2 separate regions of the Homo sapiens genome follow, and region 1 is linked to region 2. Evidence: promoter capture Hi-C in human tissues and cell types (Jung and others, 2019). All regions are on one chromosome and are shown on one strand. Each heading gives the region's core, a stretch centred on a gene start or on the middle of the fragment in contact. The rest is flanking DNA. Distances are from core to core; before and after follow the strand shown. Region 1 overlaps TDRD9 (tudor domain containing 9). Region 2 holds the start of C14orf180 (chromosome 14 open reading frame 180).

Region 1 (2,700 bases), core at 104-2,603, 530 kb before region 2:
AGTCTGTGCCCACTGCATCCTAAAGGCCTTTTCTTTCTTCTTTTCTCTTTGGGTGATAGTCAGAGAGTGGTGTTTTTGTTCAGGTGGGAAGGATTGGAAACTCTAGTCTTTTCTAGAAACAGAAAATCACTGTATTAAATATTTTGGAAAGATTGTTCTGAAAGAAGTCTGTTTGGATAAAGAGCTGTATTTTGCTTTAAATTTATTAAGGTAAATATAAGTAGTTAATCTTAGATGTAAGGTTCCAGAATGTGCTTACATATTCTGTTCTGTTACAGTGATTTAAACCAGTAGTATAGGAAAAAACTTAAAAAAACAAAAAAACCATGTAGTATTTTCTGATTTTTTTTTCCATGAGGGAAAATATCTAATTTTTATAAGACTAAGTTGAGTTATACTTCTTGGTTCACATTTTGGAAATCAGAGATTACAGATTACATGGCCATAGCTTATCTGTGTTAAAACAATAAAAGCATTAAATGAAGTTTCTGTTTCTGACAGTTTTTAGTCAGAGGAGATTAAGATGTATTTAGTTCCAAAAAATCTGAAATTGTACAACTGATACAGGGATACAGACCTCTTTTAAAAGCTCAACTCACATCAGTCAGGGTTTGGTCAGAAGAACAGAGCTGTTGTAAATACAGCAGTGAAAGACGCCAGTGAGCTCGCACGTGAGAGGGAAGTTGTAGGATCAGAGAAATGCTCTGCTTAAACTGACTTGTCCCAGATGGACAATTTGAAGATGGTGAGGAAACAGGAGAAGCGTGTGCATGGGCATCAACTTGGGATCATAAACGGGAGCTTGTGTGGGGTCTTGGAAGCCGTCACATCTTGGGGAGCATTGGCGCTGTGCTGGGCCTCTGTGGGTTCGCTGGCCAGCAGCGGGAAGCTGGCAGATGCCAAGCGGGAAGACCACCAAGCAGCTGTGGTGGCTGGGCAGCACTGCACCCCTGTCACTGGGCCACTGTCCTGGCCTTCTGGGGAATGTGCTTCCCAGCCTTAGGGAGTAAGTGGTCATACCAAGTTGGCACACATGGAGGGCTCTTGGAAGGTTTTGAGCACGTCCAAAACTTGGTTCCGCTTTAAAGTGAAGGTTTTGCCCGTCGTCAGAAAGCCCTCTGAGAAAGCCTCCGGGGAGGGCAGCAGACACTTTGATTGGCTTTTCTCTTTGCTCTGCCGACCTATGAGTACTTAGTCCATGTGGGCAAGGTTACCAAATGTGTGGCCTTAGCAGTAGGGGACACTCACAACAGTCAAGCACTCATTCTGTTCGTTTTTTAACCAGACTTTTAGTAAGTGACTAAAAATTTAGGCCAGGTGCAGTAGCTCACACTTGTAATCCTAGCACTTTGGGAGGCCGAGGTGGGAGGATTGCCTGAGCCCAGGAGTTCAAGGCTGCAGTGAGCTGTGATTGTACCCCTGCGCTACATCCTGGGCAATAGGGCAAGACTCTGTCTCAAAAAACAAAAACAAAAAAATTTAAGTAGTACCAAGAGGCTTGTTTAAAAACAAAAACACCCAACTCTCAAAGGAAACCATACTAACTCTTCCCTATATTTTTCTGGAATTGCTTTCATCTTGCTGAGGAATGTTTTTGTTCTGCTTTTTCATGGTTGCCATCTTAGCCATCAGCTGTTGAGCAGCAGATGAATATTGGCTCCTTCCCACTGTTCTGCACCTCCTTTGCTATCTCTACGCACGGTCACAGCAATATCACTGGCCAGGTCAGTCATTGTGCTTTATAACGTGGATTTTGTAGATAGCAAAGAAAATTATCTTCTGTAAAACCAAGTGGTGCACTTCGACTGCATTGCCTTCCTTATCTATCTTAAGAGGGTACTTGCCTTGTTTGTTTGCAAAATTCTCCTCATATTTAAATACATAATAATGTTCTTAGTATAATAATACATGTCCATGACATAAGATGAAGACATTTGAAAAGGGTCTCTAGTGAAGTCTCTTTCATGCCCAGCCCAAGTGCTCCTCGGAGGCAGTCGTTGTTTCATCCTGGTGCATCCCGTCAGCACGCCCTGTGTTCCACACACTGTCACGGACGCTGAAGATCCACTCCGAGCAAAGTGGCCCAGGTTTCACTGCACTCAGGGAGCAGTGGGTAGAGGCAGATGGTGGTCAAATGCGTCAGGCGACAGAGTGAGAGCTGTCAAGCGGCAGGACAGGAGCGTGCACACTTGTTTTTGCTTTGTGGGCCATGTGGTTGCTGCTGCTGCTGTTCAGCTTTGTGTTGAAGCTCAGGAGTAGCCATAAACAAACGAGCAGGGCTGTGTGCCCGCAAAACCTGATTTATGAGAACAGGCATCAGACTTGAGCTTGGGTCTTAGCTGCTGATCCTGTGATGGGGGGAAGTACAGGGAGTGACACTGCTTTAGAGAAGCAGCTGGGGACAGCCTTTCCCATGTGACATTCAAGCAGAGGCCCGGCCCAGGCTGCACTGGAATAGCTGGGAGGAGATGCGTGAGGCTCCAAGGAGGCAGCAGGCCTGGTGCGTGTGAGGAGCCACCAGGCAGCCCGTGCGGCTGGCACAGAGTGTGGAGGGTACTGGTGGTCAGGCTGGAGAGCAGCCAGGCCAGGTGGGCCACACGCAGGTTTTGGGGTTTACTCTGAGTGAGGTGGGGAGCTCCTGGAGGGTTTTGAACAAGGGAGTGTCATGCCTTGATGACGTTTTGAGAAAGATTATTCTGG
Region 2 (2,864 bases), core at 277-2,776:
ACCCAAGGTCTGTGGGCTGACCGTTCCCTCCCCTCTGTCAATGAGAAGGGTCAGGAAGGAGTTGTCCCGGAGCCCCCCGACCTCGGGCAGTGCAGCCTGACCTCTGAAATCTGGGAGGAGCAGCTCCAGCCCTGGGAAGCCAAGGATAAGCGCCCAGATTGGGCACAGGCGGGAGAGGGTCTTGTCTGGCTACAGGACCTCACTCTTCCCAGGAAGCCAGACTGCCAGCAGGACCACCCAGCCTTCCTCAGTGCTCTCCCTGGAACAAGCGTCAGCGAGCCAAGGCCCTCCTGCCAATCTGGCCCACCCCGTTTGTGTAGACACAGAGCGCACTGTGTGCCATATGGCCCTGTAAGAGAAAAGTTTGCTCCCCCATGCCCTGTACTGAAGACGGCAGTGAGGGGAGGGCCGGTCTGCTGAACCCCATCCCAGTGGCTGCGTTGCTCATGCTCTGACGGTGGGTTCCAGGACTCTGTGTCCATGCAGCCCCACGGCTGGCCCTGAGCAGTCACCCTCTGTGCACACTGTCCCCCAGCCTGGCACACCCTGGGCTCCCAGGGGTCCTGTAGCTTTACCCAAGGGAGATGCACCCCCATTCCTAATGGAGAAACACGGGTCTCTCCACACCTCCTCCAGCAGTCCCCTGAAACAGGTCAAAGCCCCACAAACCAGGCAGGGGTCTGCCCACATGTGGTGGTGCCCTGCGCCAGTGATGCCCTCACCAGCCTCTTTCAGACCTGCCTTTACATGCACCAGCAGACGGGGGGGCTGGCGAGGACGGGCCACCAAGCCTGAGCCAGGCTACCACCTCCGGGCTGTGTGACTCTGGACAGGGTGCCTCAACTCTCTGAGCTGCACTTTCACCTACAAATGAGGGGCAGACTCAGCAGCGCCAGGCAGGGCAGTTGGACGCCCACCCAGGACAGACCCTGAGAAAGGCTGATCCCTCACCCCTGCCATCGCTCACTGACCCATACATTGCCCCTTCCTGCCAGGGCAATATCGAGGGTCGGCCAGTGTGCCCCAAAACGGCAGCTTGGGACCCATTCTTTGCCTCTCCCTCTGGCAACCCCAGGTCAGGACTCACAGGGGCACAGGGGCCTGGGGCAGGGCGGGCACTCTCGCCACCACGGAGGCCCCATGCTGGGTCAGGGTCTTATTGGAGGCTGGACTCTGTGATCACCTCACCTCCCGCAGCCCCACAGTGCCCTCCCTCTCCCACTCTGCCCCGAATTCCAATCCATAGGTTTTTCCAAGAGCTGCACAGCTCTGGAATTGACCTGGGAGGGGGCACATTTGGGCCGGGAGGGGTAGGAACAGCAGCAAACTCTGGTCTTATCTGAAATCATGGTCTGTTGTCCACCGGGGGCCTGGGAAACAGCCACCCCCTTCTGCTCCGGGGCCAGCGGCCTGTCCTCGGGTTCACTGCTATTTCTGCCAAAGGGGAGAGGTAATTATAGCCTGGCCGCTGCCAGCTGGCCCAGCTTTGCGATCCAGCAGAGAGGGCTGGAGACGGGACGAAGGCCACAACAGACCCGGCCCTGCCAGCGGGCGGTGGCGCCTCCAGATCAGAGCCCTCGGGAAGGAGGCCTGGGCGGGCCTGGCCCGTTCACCTGTGTGCCCTGCAGTTCTGCCCGAGGCTCAACTCTCAAGGGCCTGGGAGGGGTGCTGCCGGCCAAGAGGGTCCAGGACCTCACTGGACTGTGCCCCACAGGGAGATCCCGAAGAGCCTGTTTCTGTCCCTCGGGGAGCCAGGAGGGAACCAGGTGAGTTCCAGCCCCAGGGAGAGGGGGCTCACTTCCTGCTTGGGTATGAAGATGCCAGAGCGGAGAGATTGCCAAAGGCAGGTGCAGGTGGGGAACCTGCCCCAGCTGGGCAGCAGGTGTGGGCAGAGACTGGGCAGAGCGGAGAGATTGCCAAAGGCAGGTGCAGGTGGGGAACCTGCCCCAGCTGGGCAGCAGGTGTGGGCAGAGACTGGGCAGAGCACACACTGATGATCCTGAGTGACCTGAACAAGCTCCAGAGTGGCCACCCTTCCCCCTTCTCCTGGGACTGATGGTTTCCCTAAAACGGAGACAGTCCCAGGCCGGCCCTGTGTCCACACTGAGGCCAGGCCGCCTCTGGGGGAAGCAGGGAACACGGCCACTTCAAACTTAGCAGCGGGGGTGCTCCTGGCCACACAGGAGCTTCCAAAGGGCACCTGATGTTGCGCGAAACAGCCTGGGCAGTGGGAGAAGGGGCTGCACTCTCAGGGGAATGCAGGCAGCCGTGCCAGGCATGAACCCAGCCAGCCTTCCCTGAAGGGCCTTGGTGGGGGGCATCCTCCGAGGGCAAGTCTACGCAGGCCCAGCCTAGCAGGAATGGATTCGTTACTCCAGTAACTGAAGCCTAGTTCTCAGTGTTTGGGAATCCCTGAGAACTGGCTCTTTTCTGAGCCGTCAGTCAGAAGGAATCCCTGTCCTGCCCTGTGTGGCCATGGGACCCCCACCCAGCACTGGACGCCACGCCATTTCTTGGGCACTACTGAGCTTTGCAGTGCCCTGGACAGTTGGCAAACAGCCCCCATTCCACATATGGGAGGAAGGGCCTGGGGGGGTCCCCCGCCCTGTCTGTCTGGAGCTCTCGAGGCCTAGGGTGGCCCCTGCACCCAGCAGATGAGCAGCCATCACCCGGTACTGCTGCTACCTCGAGCCCTAACTGCACCTCGGGATGTGAGGGCCCATCTAGGCATGGAGAGGGGCCTCAGGGGGCCACCAGGCAGCTCCTGCTCCTGTTCCTACCTGGTAGGGCCTGCAGGCACCTGAGCAAGCCCAGTGGGCGGTCAGCCCAGCCAGGGGCCTCCCCACAAGTTCTCCCTCTTACTT

The links. Contacts are between HindIII fragments. The study calls those that stand out against the background at their distance.
Region 1: a fragment that was not itself captured here is called in contact with the fragment with the promoter of C14orf180 in region 2 in 1 of the 25 tissues and cell types used here (lymphoblastoid cells).

What each region holds. Positions count from the first base shown.
Region 1 is chr14:104,052,184-104,054,883 of GRCh38, forward strand. TDRD9 (tudor domain containing 9) reads left to right here. Exons shown (of 36, transcript NM_153046.3): 36 at 1-484. Among named protein-coding and RNA genes, the nearest start is that of ASPG, 32 kb to the right of the region's middle. The HindIII fragment of the contact is 8,720 bases long and covers 1-2,700 here.
Region 2 is chr14:104,578,238-104,581,101 of GRCh38, forward strand. It overlaps C14orf180 (chromosome 14 open reading frame 180), which reads left to right and starts at 1,527. Exons shown (of 5, transcript NM_001008404.3): 1 at 1,527-1,766. The HindIII fragment of the contact is 18,385 bases long and covers 1-2,864 here.